Regions from separate parts of the Homo sapiens genome. Here all the other regions are linked to region 6. The links are contacts of gene promoters, found by promoter capture Hi-C in blood cells and fetal thymus (Javierre and others, 2016). All regions are on one chromosome and are shown on one strand. Each heading gives the region's core, a stretch centred on a gene start or on the middle of the fragment in contact. The rest is flanking DNA. Distances are from core to core; before and after follow the strand shown.

Region 1 (3,189 bases), core at 688-3,187, 380 kb after region 6:
GATCATGGAAACGGAAAGTTGGACTTCCTTGCCTCTTTGCTTTCTTTGCCTGTCTGCCCTTTGATGGTGCTTGTATTAGGCTTGTTGTTAAGAAGTGGTTCCCAACTGGAAATGGCCAATGCCACGTGGGAACTGACCTCTACATGTTGATGGGTCACCCAACCTTCTTTCCCTTCTGTTTCAGAATGTACCTGTGACATCTCTTTGACTCTCCACTGTTGCCCTTGAAGAACAGAGATGAGTTTTCTTCCTTTTTCATAAGGAAGCCACTTTTATAGCGAAAGAGAGCTGGAGAACTGGGATATCATGAGGAGTTGTAGACAGTTAAACCTGAATTCTAGCTTTTGGAACAAAATAGTAATGTAATTGTAGCAGTTCTCACTTTTTTATTTTTTATTTTTTTGAGACGGAGTTTCACTCCTGTTGCTTAGGCTGGAGTGCGATGGCGCAGTCTCGGCTCACTGCAACCTCCGCTTCCCGGGTTCAAGGGAGTCCCCTGCCTCTGCCCCCCAAATAGCTGGGATTACAGGCGTGCGCCACCATGCTCGGCTAATTTTTTGTATTTTTAATAGAGATGGGGTTTCACTATGTTGGTCAGGCTGGTCTCGAACTCCTGACCTCAGGTGATCCGCCTGCCTTGGCCTCCCAAAGTGTTGGGATTATAGGCGTGAGCCAACGCGCCTGGCCAATTCTCACTTTTGGACCATCTACTACAGGGCTGTTTGGACATACCTCCTTTAATTGTCACAGTAACCCCATGACGTAATTGGTTGTGCCTGGTCATACAGGTAAGAAAACTGAGGCTTAGAGAGGTTTAGAATTTTGCTGAAGGTCATACTAGTGAGTAGAAGGCAAAGTAGGCTTCAGGCTTAGAACTGTCAGATTCCAAAGGCAGTATTTTTTGTCCATCTGTTGTCTGTTTCGATTCAATGCTTTCAAAGAGATACAAATTCAAATTTAAAATAATTTAAATTGTTGAATATGGCTTACATTTTAAAGCTTTGCATAGGTTTTATTGGCATAAAAATAATGTTCTTTTGCAGCTAGTTTGCTGGTGTTTTATTCTCTAGAGACCAACAGCTAGGGCTTAGTGTTTATCTGATGAGTTTTAGTTTATGCATTCAGTTTTGCTCCAGGATATAAATAGTGAAATGTTGAATTAAGTTATGGAGTGGTGTGAAATTCAGCATGCTAAGGCAATCAAACAGAAGTCTTCTGAGCCATTTGAGAAGCAGCTTGATGTCCTTGTTCTTAGAACAGGGCTGTCCAATCTTTAGACTTTCTTGGGCCACATTGGAAGAAGGCCATACATAAAATACACTAACCCTAATGATAGCTGATGCACTAAAAAATAAAATTGCAAAAAAATCTCATAACGTTTTAAGAAAGTTTACAAATTTGTGTTGGGCTGCATTCAAAGCTGACCTGGGCTGGGGCCATGAGTTGGACAAGCTTGTTCTAGAATATTTTCGGCAAATTTTGGTAAGGGGGAAAATAAGTAATAGTAATAATAGTAGTAAATAGTAATAATTGCTGTCAAAGCAGCTACCATTTATCGAGTTCTAGTAACTGTGAGGCACCATGCCAACTACTTACATATTATTTCACCCAATTTTCCGAACATCCTGTCAAGTAGGTGGTGGGAATTTTCGTTTTATAGATCAGGCTTGGAAACGTGACTTGTCCGATTGAGTCAGGATCTGAACATAGGTCTTTTAACTCTAAAGCTTATACCCAAACACTGGGTTCTGTGAAATTTCAAAAGCATATGATAGGCTGACTGCAGTGGCTCATACCTGTAATCCCAGAACTTTGGGAGGCTGAGATGGAAGAATCCCTTGAGCCCAGGAGTTCGAGACCAGCTTGGGCAACATAGTGAAACCTCGTCTCTACAAAAACAAAACAAAATGTGATCAAAATCATACTTCATGATTTTTGGTTTCTAAAGATACTCTCTAAATTTCTCTCCCCAATTTAAAAACGAAAGCAGAGCACTGTTGGAAGGTTCAAATAGGTAGATTAATTTAGGTTGGTTTTTTTGTTTTGGTATAGTTGAAGATAATTCAGGTTATTGTTTACATGTTTACATTTATCAAAATAATACATGTACATAGATTGAAAGACCAAATAGGCTGAGCGTGGTGGCTCAAGCTTTTGGAGGCCAGCACTTTTGGAGGCTGAGGCGGGTGGATCCCCTGAGGTCAGGAGTTTGAGACCAGCCTGACCAACGTGGTAAAATCCCGTCTGTACTAAAAGTACAAAAATCAGCTGTGCGTGGTGGTGGGCGCCTGTAATCCCAGCTACTTGGGAGGCTGAGGCAGGAGAATCGCTTGAACCTGGAAGGCGATGGGTGCAGTGAGCCAAGATCGCGCCACTATACTCCAGCCTGGGCAACAAGAGCGAAACTCTGTCTCAAAACAAACAAACAAAAAAAACAACCAAATAGTGCTTTAAACCTTAGAATAAAAAAAAATATATCAATCTCTTGTCCACCCCCTTTTTAAACTATAGACAACTATTTTCACCTTTTTTTGGCACTTTTTAAAATAGTATTTTGGCTGGGTGTGGTGGCTCACACCTGTAATTCCAGCACTTTGGGATGCCAAGGCAAGTGGATCATGAGGTCAGGAGATCGAGACCATCCTGGCTGACACGGTGAAACCCTGTCTCTACTAAAAATACAAAAAAATTACCTGGGTGTGGTGGCGGTTGCCTGTAGTCCCAGCTATTCGGGAGGCTGAGGCAGGAGAATGGCATGAACCTGGGAGGTGGAGGTTGCAGAGAGCTGAGATCGCGCCACTGCCCTCCAGCCTGGGTGACAGAGTGAGACTCCGTCTCAAAAAAAAAAAATAGTATTTTATCTTTGTGGATATGGTAAAATTGCTATTGATTTACATGTAATCTTTTGACTTTTGATCATAGAAGACTTTTGCTGCCTTGTAAAACTCTTCAATCCACCAGTGAGTCAAAAACTTGTAGGAAATTTGTCAGTTACTTTTTTTCCTCCCCTGTAGTACTCGGTCCTGCTCCAGTCTGGACTGTTTTTTTTTTTTTTTTTCCTCCCCAGTCCTTCTGCACAGCTGCCTTTCTGGGAATTTCCTCCCCTGCCAGTTGAAGACCGAATCCTACTCTGTCGCCCAGGCTGGAGTGCAGTGACATGATCATTCATGGCTTACTGTGCTTCTACCT
Region 2 (3,050 bases), core at 95-2,594, 290 kb after region 6:
GAGAATCGCTTGAACCCGGGAGGCGGAGGTTGCCGTGAGCTGAGATCGTGCCATTGCACTGCAGCCTGGGCAACAAGAGTGAAACTCTGTCTCAAAAAAAAAAAGTCATTGGATTTTTATAGGAATGCATTGAATACACAGATTGCTTTAGGTGGTATTGTCATCTTAAATATATTAAGACTTTCAATTTATGAACATGGGACGTCTTTCTTTGCTTTTTTTTTTTTCCAGCAATGTTTTGTAGCTTTTATTCTACACATCTTTGGCCTCCTTGGTTAAGTTTATTCCTAAGTATTTTATTCTTTGGTTTTTGTTTTTGTTTTTGTTTTTTTGAGATGGAGTCTCGCTCTGTCGCCCAGGCTGGAGTGCAGTGGCGCGATCTCGGCTCACTGCAAGCTCCGCCTCCCGGGTTCATGCCATTCTCCTGCCTCAGCCTCCTGAATAGCTGGGACTACAGGCGCCTGCCACCACGGCCGGCTAATTTTTTTGTATTTTTAGTAAAGACGGGGTTTCACTGTGTTAGCCAGGATGGTCTCGATTTCCTGACCTCGTGATCCGCCCGCCTCGGCCTCCCAAAGTGCTGGGATTACAGGCGTGAGCCACCATGCCTGGCCAGTATTTTATTCTTTTTAATGCTATTGTAATGAAATTTTCAAAAGTTTCCTTTTCAGATTACTCATTGCAAATATACAGAAATAAAACTGATTTTTGTGTGTTAATTTATATTCTGTAGCCTTGCTGAATTTTAGTAGCTTTAATAATTTTATTGTGGATTCTTTAAGGTATGCTACATGTAAGAAGATGTCATCTGCAAACAGATAATTTTATTTTTCCTTTTCAATGTGGATGTCCTTTATTCTTTTTCTTTATTTTATTTTATTTATTATACTTTAAGTTTTAGGGTACATGTGCACAATGTGCAGGTTTGTTACATATGTATACATGTGCCATGTTGGTGTGCTGCACCCATTAACTCTTCATTTAACATTAGGTATATCTCCTAATGCTATCCCTCCCCCCTCCCCCCACCCCACAACAGGCCCCAGTGTGTGATGTTCCCCTTCCTGTGTCCATGTGTTCTCATTGTTCAATTCCCACCTATGAGTGAGAATATGCGGTGTTCGGTTTTTTGTCCTTGCGATAGTTTGCTGAGAATGATGGTTTCCAGCTTCATCCATGTCCCTTTACAAAGGACATGAACTCATCCTTTTTTATGGATGCATAGTATTTCATGGTGTATATGTGCCACATTTTCTTAATCCAGTCTGTCGTTGTTGGACATTTGGGTTGGTTCCAAGTCTTTGCTATTGTGAATAGTGCTGCAATAAACTTACCTGTGCATGTGTCTTTATAGCAGCATGTTTTATAATCCTTTGAGTATATACCCAGTAATGGGATGGCTGGGTCAAATGGTATTTCTAGTTCTAGATCCCTGAGGAATCGCCACACTGACTTCCACAATGGTTAAACTAGTTTACAGTCCCACCAACAGTGTAAAAGTGTTCCTATTTCTCCACATCCTCTCCAGCACCTGTTGTTTCCTGACTTTTTAATGATCGCCATTCTAACTGGTGTGAGATGGTATCTCATTGTTTTGATTTGCATTTCTCTGATGGCCAGTGATGATGAGCATTTTTTCATGTGTCTTTTGGCTGCATAAATGTCTTCGTTTGAGAAGTGTCTGTTCATATCCTCTGCCCACTTTTTGATGGGGTTGTTTTTTTTCTTGTAAATTTGTTTGAGTTCATTGTAGATTCTGGATATTAGCCCTTTGTCAGATAAGTAGGTTGCAAAAATGTTCTCCCATTCTGTAGGTTGCCTGTTCACTCTGATGGTAGTTTCTTTTGCTGTGCAGAATCCTAAGCCAAAAGAACAAAGCAGGAGGCATCATGCTACCTGACTTCAAACTATACTACAAGGCTACAGTAACCAAAACAGCATGGTATTGGTACCAAAACAGAGATATAGACCAATGGAACAGAACAGAGCCCTCAGAAATAATGCCCCATATCTACAACTATCTGATCTTTGACAAACCTGACAAAAACAAGAAATGGGGAAAGGATTCCCCATTTAATAAATGGTGCTGGGAAAACTGGCTAGCCATATGTAGAAAGCTGAAACTGGATCCCTTCCTTACACCTTATACAAAAATTAATTCAAGATGGATTAAAGACTTAAATGTTAGACTTAAAACCATAAAAACCCTAGAAGAAAACCTAGGCATTACCATTCAGGACATAGGCATGGGCAAGGACTTCATGACTAAAACACCAAAAGCAATGGCAACAAAAGCCAAAATTGACAAATGGGATCTAATTAAACTAAAGAGCTTCTTTATTTCTTTTTCTTGACTGGTCTCACCAGGACTTACAGTACTATGTTGAATAGAAGTGGAGAAAGCAGGCATCCTTGTCTCGTTCCTCATCTTAGTGATACAGCTTTCCGTCTTCCATCGCTGAGTATGATGTTGGCTGTGAGATTTTCATATGTGGCCTTTATCACATTGAGGACTTTTCCTTCTATTTCTAGTTTATTGAATGTTTTATCGTAAAAACTTGGTCAATGCTTTTTCTGCATAGATTGAGATAATCATGTATTTTTCCTTCATTCTGTTAATTTAGTGTATTATATTGATTTGCTCTCCTATGTTGACCCCTCCTTGTATTCCAGAAATAAATTCCATTTGGTCCTGATATATAATCCTTTCAATATGCTGCTGAATTCCATTTCCTAGTATTTTGTTGAGGATTTTTGCATCTATATTCATAAGGGATATTAGTCTGTAGTCTTCTTGTAGTTTCTTTGTCTGGGTTTATTATCAAAGCAATAGTGATGTTATAGAATGAGTTGGGAAGTATTCCTTCCTCTTCAATATTTTTGGAAGAATTTGAGAAGAATTGGTGTTGATTATACTTTAAATATTTGGTAGAATTCACTACCAGATGGTAGAAGCCATCTGGCCCTGGGCTTTTCTTTATTGGAAGTTTTTTTTATTACTCTTCAATTTCCCTACCAATTATAGATCTATTCTGATTTCCTATTTCTTC
Region 3 (3,156 bases), core at 492-2,991, 350 kb before region 6:
AGAGAATAAACATGTTTTGAGCCACACGGTTTATAGTCATTTGTTATGGCAGCCACAGGAAACTCACACACTGGGTATCCAGGAATGCAAGGCCTGGCCGCTCCTGAACTGGGCATCTCAGAGCTGTGTTTGCAATAGGACACTGCAGCAGGTGATGTTTCCTTCTGGATATGCCCTGAGCTCAGGGCTCCTCTTCTGCAGTGCAGCCCACTGGGTGCACAGCATCTGTCTGGGCTCTCACAAACCCCCATGGGATGTGGGGGTCAATGGGACCGTTGCAGGCACCATACTCGTGTTGCTTTGTTTCTGACCCAGTAGGAACAGTGAAGGCTCAGCTGTCAGTTTCCAAGTAGGATCGGATCTGATGATGCCTCCTTTTCACAGGAGTTAGTTACTTCTCCTTTTCTGCTTTCAACATCCCCTGCCTTGACTTCTCTCCTTTGTATGGCATTTGTTTGTCTTAGACCGTGACGTCCTGAGAGAAAACTAGGCCCCATTTGTGGTTAGGTTGGTTTCCAATCTCAGGGGCAGAGAGCTGCTTTACATAATTGATGAAAACTTTGTTTCTGTTTCCTAACTCTCGATTCAGTGCTTTTTTCACATACTCCCAAGCTTACATGTCCTTGCTACCTTCAGAAACAAAACATGGTATTAAAAGTTGCTGCTGGATATTGGGCAGCTGATATCTGACCTCATGAAGCAGAAGGGGAGGGTGAGGAATTGCCACTTGCAATAGGGATCCCCTGAGCTTCCCTGATACTAACATGGTGGGGGGGGGGGCTTGATAAAAAACAAAGGGCAGGCTCAAGAGCTCAGGGCTGCTGCTGAGAGTCTAATGGCTTCTCAGCCCCTGGTAACCTTACCCTCCAGGCCCTACTCCCACCTCCTCTCCTGCCTCCCACCCGGTCAGTGCTCCACCAAACTTCACTGCCTTACTGGAGTGCTCCTCCCTACCCTCTCCTTCGGCCCAGTCTCCTTCATCCCGGGAGACCCAGCTCACATCTCACCTGCCCTGGGGATGTGGGGCCTTCTCCCTCTCCAGAATTTCTCTTCCCTCACACTGCTCCTCAGAGCACTTGGTGTCCACTTCATCACACCCCTGCCCTGGGCCGGCAGGATCCGGGGGCTACAGGCAGGTTCTATGGGTCAGGGATGGGTCTTGCTCCTCTTTGCCACCTAGGTGTTTGGAGCTTCCCCTGCACAGAGCAGTGCTCCGCAAATGCTTGTGGATTTCAGCTCAGTCAGTGTAATTGCTCAGTTGTGTACCAGAGAAATGGTCTTGTTGGAAAGAGCCTGCAGAATGCCAACTGCAGCCTCAGCGAAGGTGATAGAAAATATCACTAAGCAACGATGGCTTATCACTCTTTGTTCAATTATAGCTAAGTTCAGCCCAAACATAAGGTCAATATCTGAATAAACTATGCAGTAAGTGGGAATTGTTTCATTTATTTTATGGCATAGTTATTTTAGAATATACAAAATGGTCGAGGAGACATGAATCCTTAAGAGTGTATGAAAAAGACAAGTGTTTATAAAGCCATACCAGCATCCAATCAATGTCAGAAGCTTTAAGAGCTGAGAAATGTCCAAACATAAAGTGTACTTGAGAAGTGATTTCCATTGGATTCCATTGCTCTCAAACAGACCCTGGCTCTGCAGCCTTACTTTTGAGGATGACTTCTCCAACAGATCTGTCTGCCTGTCTGGGGACAGATGATTGATGAGGTCAGCAAGCTGAACGATGTCACCTCTCCAGCCCCAAGCCTTTTTCAGGTACCAGAAATGGGAATTTTTATATTATCTCATTTAACATGTCTTGGCGAGCAGGACCCCAGGTTTTTAAGTCTTTGGGTTCTCCCATAGGTTTAGCACTGAGTTGTTGATCAATAAACATTTTTTGAATTTAATAAGAAAAGAAAAGCTTGGTGGGAAAGAGCTCTAAAGTTGAACTTTCTCCACCCTGACCTTCAAACCAGTCAAAGAGCCCCACCAGGGTTTGGGATCAGTAGCTCTGCCACTGCCAGCCAATGTTTCAAATTTGCATTGTCATATGTACAGCAGATGCCTCTAAGCAGTCAGCATCCAGAATATCAACAATTACTTGCAATATTTTGGTGAGATAGCCGACTTCCCCAGAAATGTGCCTACTGTATACACACCATCCCCAGTGTTGACATTTGGAAAATGGGAGAATCTCATGATCTCCTTGAACCTGGGACAAATGTGTTTGGTCCCTTCCTCACTGAGGCTGAACAAAGTCCATTCCAACCCTGCAATACAGAAATGTGGCCCAAGTTGCTGAGTGAGTGGGGAGGAAGTAGTCGCTGCATAGGCCGCTGGCAACTACTCATTCAGAGGCCTTTGTTCGTTTGATTTTGCTTAGACAAACCTGACCCCATAGGCACACTCAATTCATCAGCTCATGTGTCCCATGTGCCAGCAACAGAATAGTGTGCCTAAGATGTGTTCTCTAAGTGACTGAACTTTCCTGCTTTTCAGGCAGTCTAGTGATGGGTCAAGAGAGCCTAAGAGCTATTTGAATTGAGGAGGATTTTGATTACACTAGAATAATCAGACTTCAAGAAATTTACCATTAACACCAACTATGTGCAGCTCTCACCATTAGTGTCTGTCTTCCTACACAAGTTTATTGTTAAATTATATTTGTCTTTTTTTTTTTCCTGGAAAGGCAAGTTAGATGTCTAGGGGATTTTATGTCTGATAAATGCCTCTAGTTGGAGATGTATTACAAAGAAATTTAGACTCCCCAGGACTGAGTGGAGTAATTAGTGTATTTCTAGAATGGCTTCACCATTTGCTGGAAGACAGAATATGCTTCATGGCCATCTCCTACCAATTTTTGGCTCCTTCTTTCTCCTCCCCAATGCCCCACCCCTACTCTTTCCAACATCAGCTATTTTTATGTTTTCCCCAAATCTGAAGCTTCTTGATATATGTAGTTTTGAAGAGAGACGCACAACACTGTTTTCTTCTAGATAGCTGAGTTCTGTGGTTCTAAGATGAATAGCTAGTTCTAGCTTTAATGTGGAATTGAGGACATGGTGTTTTGGGTAGGTGAGAGACAGAAAATCATGATATGTTAGAACTAGAAAGCACCATGTTTCCTAGATGAGGGAAAGGGGAGAGGATGCAGGT
Region 4 (3,130 bases), core at 628-3,127, 360 kb after region 6:
AACCCCGTCTCTACTAAAAATACAAAAAATTAGCCGGGCGAGGTGGCGGGCGCCTGTAGTCCCAGCTACTCGGGAGGCTGAGGCAGGAGAATGGTGTGAACCCCAGGGGGCGGAGCCTGCAGTGAGCCGAGATTGCGCCACTGCACTCCAGCCTGGGCGACAGCGAGACTCCGTCTCAAAAAAAAAAAAAAAAAAAAAAGAGTCACAAGAGAATAAAGTGTTCTGAGGGCTGAGAGGGGAGAGCAAAAATTCTGTGGAGGAGGGAAGAAATAGGAAAAACTTGATTAAAGGGCAGCGTTAGGCCAGGCACAGCGGCTCATGCCTGTAATCCCAGTACTTTTGGAGGCCAAGGTGGGAGGATCACTTGAGGTCAGGAGTTGGAGACCAGCCTAGCCAACATGGTGAAACCCCATCTCTACTAAAAATACAACAAAAATTAGCCAGGTGTGTTGGCAGGCACCTGTAATCCCAGCTACACAGGAGGCTGACGCAGGAGAATCACTTGAATCTGGGAGGCAGAGGTTGCAGTGAGCTGAGATCGTGCCACTGCACTCCAGCCTGGGCAACAGAGCAAGACTCCGTCTCAAAAAATAGTAATAATAATAATTAAAGGGCAGCATTTCCAATAAACAATGGATAGGATCAAATCAGCCTCAGAAATGAGAACAAGCAAGATGCATTTTAAGAACATTAAGCAACTGAGTTTGTTTGGAGCTTAGGCTCTATGTAGGGAATCAGTAATAGATGATTGTGGAGACACAGCTTAGGTACAACCACCAAGTGGAGACCCTTAAATACAGGCCTGAGTGGAGATGTCCTCTGGTAGGCAAAGAAGCTCCTGAGCAACTCTGAGGTAAACAGAGTTACCACATGACCCCACAATTCCACTCCTAGGTACATACCCAAGAGAAGTGAAAACACATGCTACACCTACAGTTGGACATGAACATTTGTAACAGCATTATTCCTAACAGCCAAAAACTGCAAATTCAAATGAAGTACTGAAGGATGTTAGGAGGCTCTCCTTCCATAATGACCTGACTTATAGCCTAGACCAATAATAATAAAACTCTACTTGGCTGGTTGCAGTGGCTCATCCCTGTAATCCCAGCACTTTGGGAGGCCGATGAGGGCGGATCACTTGAGACCACGCGTTCGAGACCAGCCTGGGCAACATGGTGAAACCCAGTCTCTGCTAAAAATACAAAAATTAGCTGGGCGTGGTGGCACACACCTGTAATCCCAGCTACTCGGGAGGCTAAGGCATGAGAACCGCTTCAACCTGGGAGGTAGAGGCTGCAGTGAGCTGAAATCGCACCACTGCACTCCAGATGGGGCAACAGAGCAAGACTCTGTCTGGGGGGAAAAAAAAATCAAATGGAGCCTTTACATCTAACTTCCAGTTTACAAGAAACGCAGGAGTAGGAGGGAATATGCTGAATGACACCATGAAACAATCAGACAAACCCCAAAAGTGGGACATTCCAGAGGACAAATGACCCAGTTTCTTCAATAAGGCAATGGTGGGGGGAAAAGGGGGCGGGAGAGGAGGAAGGCCAGATAATTCTAAATTAAAATAGATATAGACATAAAAGCAATAGCTGAATTTTGTTTGGACTCGATTTAGACTGAAACAACTGTAAACAGAGTTTAAAGATATCTGGGACACGACTGAATACTGGGTATCAGCTGGTATGAAACAATTATGTTTAATCCTGGTAACAGTACTGTGATTATGTATAGTTACATAAATTTGTAAAGATACAATAAAGTATATAAAGTCGAAAATGATACATCTATACTTTAAAATATTTCTACAAAAAGAGCAAATAATCTCTACATCAAGTAGAAATTATGTAAATGCTAATAATCTTTACATCAAGATGTTGCATATAAGGTTATGCACTGTACTGCCGCATTTTCAATTCTGCATAATGCAAAACTAAAGAAAAAACACACCATCACCAATCTACCTGAAATGTTAGTGCTACTAAAATCTCCCTGCAACCACCAACTTTCCAGTCTAATTTGCTGTGGACTAAGAAACCCAAACCCAAGGCTGGATCTAGAGCGTACCACTTTTTTTTTTTTTTTTTGAGACAGAGTTTTCACTTTTGTTGCCCAGGCTGGAGTGCAATGGCGCGATCTCAGCTCACCGCAACTTCTGACTCCCAGGTTCAAGCGATTCTCCTGTCTCAGCCTCCTGAGTAGCTGGGATTACAGGCATGTGCCACCACACCCAGCTAATTTTGTATTTTTAGTAGAGACGGGGTTTCTCCACGTTGGTCAGGTTGGTCTCGAACTTCCGACCTCAGGTGATCCGCCAGTCTTGGCCTCCCAAAGTGCTGGGATTACAGGCGTGAGCCACTGCACCGGGCCGAGCTTACCACATTTTTAGTTTCCCATTTGAAATGACTCAACTGTCAGAATTCTTATGGGTGGTTTGACACCTGCATTAGAATAGACAAATGTCAGATTACCTTTAAAAAGATGACAGCAAAAATTCCTAACTTGAAAATCAAATCATAATCAGAAGAAAACTCTATCTTTAAAATGAAAGACCTGGCCAGGCGCAGTGGCTCACGCCTGTAATCCCAGCACTTTGGGAGGCCAAGGCGGGTGGATCACAAGGTCAGGAGATCGAGACCATCCTGGCTAACACGGTGAAACCTGTCTCTACTAAAAAAAAATACAAAAAGAAAATTAGCCACTCACAACTACTTGGGGAGGCTGAGGCAGGAGAATGGTGTGAACCCGGAAGGCGGAGCTTGCAATGAGCCGAGATGGCGCCACTGCACTCCAGTCTGGGCAACAGAGCGAGACTCCATCTCAAAAAAAAAAAAAAGAAAGAAAAAAGAAAGACCTGGCTGGGCATGGTGGCTCACGCCTGTAATCCCAGCACTTTGGGAGGCCAAGGTGGGCAGATCACGAGGTCAGGAATTCCAGACCAGCCTGGCCAACATGGTGAAACCCCGTCTCTACTAAAAATACAAAAATTAGCCAGCGGTGGTGGTGCACACCTGTAGTCCCAGCTACTTGGGAGGCCGAGGCAGGAGAATCACTTGAACCCAGGAGGCAGAGGTTTCAGTGAGCCGAGATCATACCACTGCACTCCAGCCTGGGCGACATG
Region 5 (3,034 bases), core at 267-2,766, 380 kb before region 6:
TTGCATTTCTTTAGTTACTCTGGAGGTTGTGCCTCTTTTCAAATACTTACTGGCCTTGTGTGTTATGTATTTTCTGTGATGGGTCTGCTCTCCTTATAGATGCATTTGTTCACCTCTAGATTGATTGTTTTAAATCTTGTTAGTTGTGGAAAATTTGAAACATACAAGAGCAGAGAAGATGGTATAGTGAGTCGCTGAGCCGGTTTTGATGTGAGCCAGTCTTCATAGCTCACCCACTCCCTGTATCCACTCCACCAGTTTTTAAAGTAGATCTCAGACATCAGAGCATTTCATCCATATGTATTTCCATGTATATCTCTAAAAGATAAGGACTCAACAACAACAAAAAAATTATTACACATAAAATTATCAATGATCATTCCTTTATATCATCAGATATCCACTTAATGTTCAGCTTGCCTTGATTAGAGTGTGCTTGTTTCGACTAAGATCGACATCAGGTCCATTCATTGCAAATAATTGACAAGTCTTTTAAAAACAGCTTTATTGCGATAGTCAACATATTACACAATTCACAGCGCAGGTTGAACTCACAGCCTTGTGCGCCCGTCCCTGTGCATCAATGATTTTTTAAAAATCATATTCATAGGGCTGTGTAACCATCACCACAATCTAATTTTGGAACATTTTTTGTCCCCCTCTGCCCCCACTGCCCCGGAGAGAAACCCCATACGCATTAGCTGTCACTCTAATCCCCTCCCTCCCACCAGGCCCCAGCCCCTCTGGCAACCACTAGTCTACTTTTGGCCAGACTCTGCTGAGACATTAGAACAGGATTTATTTATTTATTTTATTTTATTTTATTTTTGAGACGGAGTCTCGCTCTGTCGCCCAGGCTGGAGTGCAGTGGTGCAACCTCGGCTCACTGCAAGCTCCGCCTCCCGGGTTCACGCCATTCTCCTGCCTCAGCCTCCCGAGTAGCTGGGACTACAGGTGCCTGCCACCACACCTGGCTCATTTTTTGTATTTTTAGTAGAGACGGGGTTTCACCGTGTTAGCCAGGATGGTCTCGATCTCCTGACCTCATGATCTGCCCACCTCGGCCTCCCAAAGTGCTGAGATTACAGGCGTGAGCCACTGTGCCCAGCCTTAGAACAGGATTTTTTTTTTTTAATTAATACTTTTGGTCTCTATAGATTTGCTGTTTCTGAACATTTCATGTAAATGGAATAATACGTCTTTTCTGACTGGCTTCTTCCACTTAGCATAATGTTTTCTAAGCTTATTCACAGTGTAATTTATTTATGTCAGCACTTCATTTCTTTTCATTGCCAAATAATATTCCATGTATGTCCCTATACATGGGGTATTATTATATGCCACATTTGATCCATCAGTTGATGAAATTTAGGTTGTTTGCCACATTTGGGCCATTGTGAACAATGCTGCTATGAGCATTTGTGTGTTAAGTCTTGAGTCTCTCTATAAGATTGTCTGTTTCTTTGCAGTTTACTCAGTTAGGAAACTGGTTTGTCTTAATAGACCTTTCACCGTCTGGATGTTGCTGATCTTAACACTGTGGTGTCATTTAACATTTTTGTCTGCCGTTGTGTTTTCTCTGAATTAATATTGAGATCTAGAGGCTCAATCAGATATACCTGCAAATTTTTTTAGCAGTAATACTTGATGAGGGTGTTATGTTCTTTCATTAGGAATCTCAGTGCCTGCCTGGGAGTCGTTTTTGTGATGTCAGTAGGCAGTATTATTGCATAGCTCCATTAATTTATTAGGGGTTCAAACTTGGTGCCTATTTCTCAAGAAATTAATATGGAAGCTTTTTGCATTACAGTTTCAAATTCATTAAACTGGTGTGTGTAAGTACTTAGTGTAGTTTTTTTCTTTTTTTTTTTTTTTTGAGATGGAGTCTCGTTCTGTTGCCCAGGCTGGAGTGCAGTGGCGCAATCGCTGCTCACTCCGCCTCCGGGGTTCAAGCGATTCTCCTGCCTCCGCCTCCCAAGTAGCTGGGACTACAGGCGCCCGCCACCATGCCTGGCTAATTTTTTGTATTTTTAGTAGAGATGAGGTTTCACCATGTTAGCCAGGATGGTCTCGATCTCCTGACCTCGTGATCCACCCACCTCGGCTTCCCAAAGTACTAGGATTACAGGCATGAGCCACCACGCCTGGCCTAGTTAGTGTATTTTAACTAGCTACCTTATTAAATTTTCTCATAAGTCCTTACAGTTTTTCATAAGAGTTTCTAAAACTTTGTAGCTGATTATGCTATATGCCAGTTAGCATTTCTGATGGGCCCCTCCCTCCTTTCTCCTTGCCACCCTGCATTGCCTAGGACTTCAGAACACCCTGGTCAGCAGCAGCAGTGAGGGTGCCCCCTCATTATAGGAATCCTTCCAGAGGTGTTTACACTCACCCAAGCATGGATGCACACTCATTTCTCTCTGGTGTTATAATTGATGGGCAGACAGCAATGCACACGGATCCATGCATCCCTTTGGTTGTCCTGGGAACTGCACTCAGCCATGACACATGGGCTGTGCAATCAGGGCCCACAGACACGGCCCTCATCTGTGCAGGACCCTGGCCGGCATTTGCTGACAATAACATGGCCAGTTGGTCTTTTCTAAATAAAGCACCGCATACAGAGGAAGTATGCTGAAGCTGGGCTAGCATCAGGTGTAGAAACTGCAGGCTGAGGAGGCAGCAGCCTGACCCGGCCTGTCAGTCATGGAAGTCCCAGAGTGCTGCCAGCGTTGCTGTTAGAGCACTTGTCTGCCCGAGTTTATTTCCTCCAGGGGCACATCGGGGGCCTGCTCTGGGCCATGCAGATGCCCAGGCTCTGCCCTGGAGTAGTGGGGGAAAAGTTGGTATGAGCATTTTAAAGATGGGGAAGAGGGCTTTCCCCTCTATTCCTAGTGGTTTCCCCTCCTTTCTGAAGCAGAATTGCAGGACAGCTCCCGAGGGCAGCAGGTCAGCCTCCACAAAGAGCTGGGGGTTGTGGGGTTTGGTGGTAGCGCTGAGAAGGGGTAGGGTGGCTTTCTCTTTGGCCTCTTTC
Region 6 (3,053 bases), core at 185-2,684:
AGAGGAGGACGCGGTTCCGGGCTGCGGCGGGCGTGGTCCGGGGCTGTTCTGGGCGTGGTCTTTGGCTGTGATGGGCGTGGCCTTGGGCTATGGAGGGCGTGGTCCCAGGGCTGCGATGATGGTGGTCCGGGGCTGTGGTGGGCGTGGCCCCGGGCTGCGGCGGGCGTGGTCCCCGGGCTGCGGCGGACGTGGTCAGGGGCGGTTCTGGGCGTGGTCCCTGGGCTGCGGTGGACGTGGTCTCGGGCTGTGACGAGCATGGTCCCTGGGCAGCAGTGGACGTGGTCTCACACCCAGAGTCTGAAATTTCTGCCTCTTCCTGGCCCTAAAAATATCCTGCCTGTTCCCACGCGGCTCCTGCCTTCTGGAGCAGTCTGCCAGGCCGGCGGTGGGTGTTGGGCAGGGGTCTCAGGCTGCCAGCAGCCAAGTGCAGCCCGTTCTGCAGTGATGACAGGGATCTGTGGGCAGAGGGGACCGAGCCTCGGAGGATGCTGTAGGTGGGAGAGCTAACATTGACTCAGCATTTACTTCAGGCTATGCACTGTGCTGAGTCCCTTACCTCTGGGCTTCCGCAACGTTTCCCTGAGGTCAGTGTGGTTGGCATTCGTGTTTCACAGATAAGGAAACTGGAACAAAGCTTTTCAAGGCCACGCAGCCAACACCTCGAGAGAGCGGGAGAGCTTGTTCACTTGAACTGGATCCCCAAACACCAACAGCCACCCTGGCCACTGGCTCTGACTGAGCTCACCCCACCCCCGACAAGCCAGGTGCCTGGGGAACCTGCCTTCCATTCCTCCCCACTAGCTCCTATGAGGTCTCTGCCTGCCAGGCCTCCTCCTCCCCAGAGGAAGGGACGTTTCTACCACACAGCGACCCCACAAGTCAGCTGAGATTTTGGGGGCACCGAATACTCACATGGAGCCCTGAGTGGAAGGGGTGTAGGAGTCACACTCACACGCATGCACAGGGTCACCCTGAGCTGGAGACCATACCCAAGGCTCTGTGAGGAAATGTGAGTGCGCCCAGGCCCCTCCAGCCTGGTCCAATTTGCTGAGCCTCTAGCTCGACAGAGGTCAGACCAGGTCTACAGCCCAGCGATCCTAGTTCCAGACAGCTGCTCCTTCCTTTCTAGGAGGGCAGCCCGGAATATAATCCAGTGTGGTGAGAATCCATTGCACACTCCCTGTGAGCCAAGCAGACAGGTTTGGGGGCCACTGAGATAGGGGACACTTCTGGAGGGGTCAGTGACTGCAAAATGGTGGCAGTGGGATGATCTGTTATGTCTACCCACGCACATGCAGCTGCACAGTTGCAGAGATGTGAATGCAGGAAGCCAGGTGTGAGTCTGAATTCACATTGGTTTTTTTATCTTTATTAAGCAGTCATTCCTAAGGCCTGCCCGAGCCTGGCATCTCTACAGAGGAGTGGTGCCATCAGGACCCCTGTGGGGCAGATCAACACTCAAGGCAGGTGCAGAATCAACAACCTGTGACAAAGCCAGCCATCCCTGCCAGGAAGCATGGGGGATGAGCTGGCACCTTGCCCTGTGGGCACTACAGCTTGGCCGGCCCTGATCCAGCTCATCAGCAAGACACCCTGCATGCCCCAAGCAGCCAGCAACACTTCCTTGGGCCTGGGGGACCTCAGGGTGCCCAGCTCCATGCTGTACTGGCTTTTCCTTCCCTCAAGCCTGCTGGCTGCAGCCACACTGGCTGTCAGCCCCCTGCTGCTGGTGACCATCCTGCGGAACCAACGGCTGCGACAGGAGCCCCACTACCTGCTCCCGGCTAACATCCTGCTCTCAGACCTGGCCTACATTCTCCTCCACATGCTCATCTCCTCCAGCAGCCTGGGTGGCTGGGAGCTGGGCCGCATGGCCTGTGGCATTCTCACTGATGCTGTCTTCGCCGCCTGCACCAGCACCATCCTGTCCTTCACCGCCATTGTGCTGCACACCTACCTGGCAGTCATCCATCCACTGCGCTACCTCTCCTTCATGTCCCATGGGGCTGCCTGGAAGGCAGTGGCCCTCATCTGGCTGGTGGCCTGCTGCTTCCCCACATTCCTTATTTGGCTCAGCAAGTGGCAGGATGCCCAGCTGGAGGAGCAAGGAGCTTCATACATCCTACCACCAAGCATGGGCACCCAGCCGGGATGTGGCCTCCTGGTCATTGTTACCTACACCTCCATTCTGTGCGTTCTGTTCCTCTGCACAGCTCTCATTGCCAACTGTTTCTGGAGGATCTATGCAGAGGCCAAGACTTCAGGCATCTGGGGGCAGGGCTATTCCCGGGCCAGGGGCACCCTGCTGATCCACTCAGTGCTGATCACATTGTACGTGAGCACAGGGGTGGTGTTCTCCCTGGACATGGTGCTGACCAGGTACCACCACATTGACTCTGGGACTCACACATGGCTCCTGGCAGCTAACAGTGAGGTACTCATGATGCTTCCCCGTGCCATGCTCACATACCTGTACCTGCTCCGCTACCGGCAGCTGTTGGGCATGGTCCGGGGCCACCTCCCATCCAGGAGGCACCAGGCCATCTTTACCATTTCCTAGAGTTCTTGAGTCCACAGTCTGGCAAGCTGAGGTTAAAAATCATATGTTGAATGCAGCAGTGTCCACTTATGACTAACTTCTTAGAACAGCACAATATAATAGTGGAATTGGGCCTTTCAGAAGACCTCAACTGATGATTTTCACCATTTTGACAGTTTTTAAGTAGAGAAAGCTCTCTTATGACACTGAAATCCTACTTGGAAACGGAAGCAAGTAAAGGCAATCAAGCAGGGCTCTGGTCTAAGTCAAGCCTTGATCTGCGTCCCTCCAATGGCTTGCTGCACACCCTCCCTGGCCACTGTGGATGCATCCTTGCTGACCAACACACAGAAGCCAAAATGTTGCTGACAGTGAGAACCACAGAGGTAAGCAAGCAGAGCTGCTGAGTCCTGGGACCATGAGCTCTATCTGAGCAGCCGCTCAGGATGTGGGAGGGAGGAAAGGAAGCCAACGATCCACAGCAGTGGAGAGTGTCATGGAGATACCACTATAA
Region 7 (3,275 bases), core at 412-2,911, 390 kb before region 6:
CAGTCTGTAAGCAAGGGCGGCCTAGTGGCCGTCATTGTAGCCCACCAAACCACCCTGCTTGCTGGGCCCGCTGCTTCAATAGGTTTTATTATTATTTAGGTAACATTATTCAGATTAGGAAATGACTGATATTGAAAAGATAAGACATGAGTGACGCTGAAACATTTTACTCACAGTTCCCGAGAGAGCACGTGTTATGGGGTGGGGAGGGGTTTGATTAGCTCAGAGTGAGAGAGTCCAGTGGTTGCAAGTATGAACTTAATCGGGTGCCCAAGAAGGGAAACTGACCTCTAGCCAGGGCCTCAAAAGTGGGTCAAGGCAGCATTTTTAAAACTTTGTTATAGGAATCCACTGTTTTTGCAGTTTGTCCCTCCACGTGCTCTGTCTTGGGTTGAACAGTGTCTCCCCATCAAAAAGAAAAAAAATATCGTGTCTACCCACAACCTCAGAAGATGATTTAATTTGGGAATAGAATCTTGCAGATGTAATTAAGTTAAGGTGATTTGTACTGGATTAGAGTAGGCTCTTTTTTCTGTGTGTGTTTTTTTTTTTTTTTTTTTTTTTTTGTCTGTTTGTTTTGTTTTGTTTTGTTTGTTTGGAGATGGAGTTTCACTTTTGTTGCCCAGGCTAGAGTGCAGTAGCGCTCTCTCGGCCCACAGCAACCTCCGCCTCCTGGGTTCAAGTGATTCTTCTGCCTTAGCCTCCCAAGTAGCTGGGATTACAGGCATGCGCCACCATGCCCAGGTAATTTTGTATTTTCGGTAGAGACGGGGTTTCTCCATGTTGGTCAGGCTGGTCTCCAACTCCCAACCTCAGGTGATCCACCTGCCTCGCTCTCCCAAATTGCTGGGATTATAGGCGTGAGCCACCACACCCAGCTTAGAGTAGGTTCTATATCCAGTGACTGCTGTTCTTGCAGGAGAAGGAGAGGACACGTGGATACATATGGAGAAGAAGGCCACGTGAAGGATGGGGCCAGAGATCAGAGCGATGTAGCTACAACTCAAGGAGTGCCAGGGACAATCAGAACCACCAGAAGCTAGGACAAGCAGAGAAGCGTTCTTCCCTAGAGCCTTCAGAGGACACACAGGTCTGCCAGCACCTGGATTCCAGACTTCTGACTTTCATAACTGTGAGAGGATAAATTATGAAGTTTGTGTTAAATTACTGTGGCAGCCTAGGAAACCAATACAGACACTGGTGCCAGGAAGTAGGATGTTTCTGTAACAAATAACTAAAACGTGGAAGGAGCTTTGGAATCAGGGAGAGGCTGGAAGAAGTTTGAGGCACGTGATAGAAAAAGCCTAGAATCCATTAAGGAAACAGTTGATGGAGATGTGGACAGTAACTCTAATGAAAGCTCAGAAGGAAGTGAGAAGAGCTGTAGAGAAGCTTCTATCCTCTTAGCAGGGGTCCCCAACCCCCAGGCCAAGGACTGGTACAGGTCCCTGGCTGTTAGGAACCAGGCCACACAGCAGGAGGTGAGCGGCCAGTGATCCAGCATTACCGCCTGAGCTCCGCCTCCTGTCATACCAGCGGGGCATTAGATTCTCATAGGAGCATGAACCCTATTGGGAACTGTGCATGCTGGGGATCGAAGCTGTGCAGTCCTTATGAGAATCTAACTAATGCCTGATGATCTAAGGTGGAACAGCTTCATCCTGAAGCCATCCCATAATCCTCCCAGCCCCCCAGCCCCTGTCCCTGGTGCCAAAAAGGTTGAGGACTGATGCTCTTAGAGAATACATATATTGTCATGAACAGAATGTTAGTAGAAACCTAATGTTAAAGGTGCCTCTGGTGAGGTCTTAGAAAGAAATGAGGAACATATTCTTTGACAGCTGAGTAAAAGAGATCTTTGTTATAAAGTGGTAGAGAACTTGACTAAATTGTGTTCTGTTGTTATGTGGAAAGTAGACATGATAAATAATAAGCTTGGATATTAAACGCTTGGATATTTAGTTGAGGGAAGTGTTGAAGGTACAACCTGCTTGCTGCTAATAGGAACTGTGAGAGGAAAAAGTTACATCGAGCAAAGAACAGTCAAGCAGAAAGGAGCTGGCACTTAATGATTTAGGGGCTCTCGGGATGTCCAGATTACAAAGACTACAAAAATTAGGAAACTCACTGTTAGAAAGTGTACTCTGGAAAGAGGACCAAGGGTGTGGCTGGATAACATTTTGCTAAAGAGATTGGACATGTGACTCATGGAACCACTCCACCACCTCAGCAGAAGCCAGAAATAGAGATGGGGTTACCAAGGAAAGATCTGTGGAGGGCCCCTTTGTCTGTTGGCTGAAACCCCATGAATTATGCAGGAGACAAAGGTTTTGAGATTCTGATAGCAGTAGAAACATGGCAGCCTGGAATCTAAGGGACAGAGATGGAATGGAATAAAGGAAGGCCATGGGGCTTCCAAAATTCCACAGGCAGGCAACTGGCTGATGGAGGCATTCTGCTGCAGAAATGTTTTATCTCCCATCTTGTAATTTTCTGTTGAAAGCCAAACATGCATAAGGTGAGAGGAACTGAGGTAAATAGGCTTTTAGTGTGAAGTTTTATATTTATCTGACTAAGGAGGGAGGCTGTGTTTCTTGTTTGCTGTAGCTGTAAATGTCAGAGGCTAAAATTTCCTCTAGTGTCCTTGTTTTTGCATCCCCTGTTGCCTTTGGGTTTCCCTAGAGACTGCTTCTTACATAAATTCTGGGCCTTGCAGTTCTTTCAGCTGCAATCCCTTGTTAATATATAGGAGCCCTAAGTGATGTGGCAGTAAGATGTGGGGACAGCAGGGAGTGGTCTATAAACCCATGATCAGGGCCCAGTCTTGTTGTGAACCAGTGGTCCCTAGGCTGTGCCACTCACAAGTGCTTCTCAGCTTTTTTTTAATGTGAGTTGGAAGACTAAAGCAGACTGGAGGTGGATATTTTCCTTCCCTTGGGTTGGGTAGGCTCTGGTAGTTGCTCTGACTTTAAGCCTTTGTTAAAGAGGACAGGACGTTATGTGTGCATTTCAAAGTGGTTACACTTTCCTCCCCTTGCCAGAAGCTCCAGCAGATTTTTCTCTGATTTTCACCCAAGAACAAGATAGAATTCCTGGAGCTAAAACCCATGAGACTGTGGGGGCCCCTTAAGGCTATGTCCCCAGCATCTTTTCTCTCTTATGCTTACATGCCCAGGCTCTAGCAGTTAGTCAGTTACCCTTTAAGTTTTCCTACAGGTTGCTGGCTGCAGCAGCAGCTTCTGTGCCTGGCAAGCTGTAGCTCTGTATTTGCCTTT

What was found. The method cuts DNA at HindIII sites, captures the fragments that hold promoters and counts their contacts. A CHiCAGO score of 5 or more calls a contact.
Region 1: a fragment that was not itself captured here is called in contact with the fragment with the promoter of GPR148 in region 6 in 1 of 17 cell types (naive CD8 T cells); the score reaches 7.1 in naive CD8 T cells.
Region 2: a contact is called between a fragment that was not itself captured here and the fragment with the promoter of GPR148 in region 6, in 1 of 17 cell types (naive CD8 T cells). The highest score is 5.7, in naive CD8 T cells.
Region 3: a fragment that was not itself captured here is called in contact with the fragment with the promoter of GPR148 in region 6 in 1 of 17 cell types (total CD4 T cells); the score reaches 8.6 in total CD4 T cells.
Region 4: a fragment that was not itself captured here is called in contact with the fragment with the promoter of GPR148 in region 6 in 2 of 17 cell types (naive CD4 T cells and non-activated CD4 T cells); the score reaches 5.5 in naive CD4 T cells.
Region 5: a contact is called between a fragment that was not itself captured here and the fragment with the promoter of GPR148 in region 6, in 6 of 17 cell types (total CD8 T cells, naive CD8 T cells, naive CD4 T cells and 3 more). The highest score is 9.0, in total CD8 T cells.
Region 7: a fragment that was not itself captured here is called in contact with the fragment with the promoter of GPR148 in region 6 in 6 of 17 cell types (non-activated CD4 T cells, naive CD8 T cells, total CD8 T cells and 3 more); the score reaches 10.8 in non-activated CD4 T cells.

The regions. Positions count from the first base shown.
Region 1 is chr2:131,107,277-131,110,465 of GRCh38, forward strand. All of the region lies in intron 1 of PLEKHB2 (pleckstrin homology domain containing B2), which reads left to right. Among named protein-coding and RNA genes, the nearest start is that of PLEKHB2, 3.5 kb to the left of the region's middle. The HindIII fragment of the contact is 424 bases long and covers 1,726-2,149 here.
Region 2 is chr2:131,019,320-131,022,369 of GRCh38, forward strand. All of the region lies in intron 4 of ARHGEF4 (Rho guanine nucleotide exchange factor 4), which reads left to right. Among named protein-coding and RNA genes, the nearest start is that of SMIM39, 14 kb to the right of the region's middle. The HindIII fragment of the contact is 3,953 bases long and covers 1-3,050 here.
Region 3 is chr2:130,376,689-130,379,844 of GRCh38, forward strand. No RefSeq gene overlaps it. Among named protein-coding and RNA genes, the nearest start is that of PTPN18, 22 kb to the left of the region's middle. The HindIII fragment of the contact is 355 bases long and covers 1,565-1,919 here.
Region 4 is chr2:131,086,887-131,090,016 of GRCh38, forward strand. The region is part of intron 1 of FAM168B (family with sequence similarity 168 member B); the gene reads right to left. Among named protein-coding and RNA genes, the nearest start is that of FAM168B, 5.0 kb to the right of the region's middle. The HindIII fragment of the contact is 7,532 bases long and covers 1-3,130 here.
Region 5 is chr2:130,349,225-130,352,258 of GRCh38, forward strand. No RefSeq gene overlaps it. Among named protein-coding and RNA genes, the nearest start is that of PTPN18, 5.3 kb to the right of the region's middle. The HindIII fragment of the contact is 553 bases long and covers 1,241-1,793 here.
Region 6 is chr2:130,727,636-130,730,688 of GRCh38, forward strand. It overlaps GPR148 (G protein-coupled receptor 148), which reads left to right and starts at 1,435. Exons shown (of 1, transcript NM_207364.2): 1 at 1,435-2,701. The coding sequence starts at 1,517. The coding sequence ends at 2,560. RefSeq lists enhancers at 6-585, 586-1,164 and a silencer at 68-237. The HindIII fragment of the contact is 6,760 bases long and covers 633-3,053 here.
Region 7 is chr2:130,332,744-130,336,018 of GRCh38, forward strand. No RefSeq gene overlaps it. Among named protein-coding and RNA genes, the nearest start is that of TRE-TTC1-1, 2.8 kb to the right of the region's middle. RefSeq lists an enhancer at 1-202. The HindIII fragment of the contact is 542 bases long and covers 1,391-1,932 here.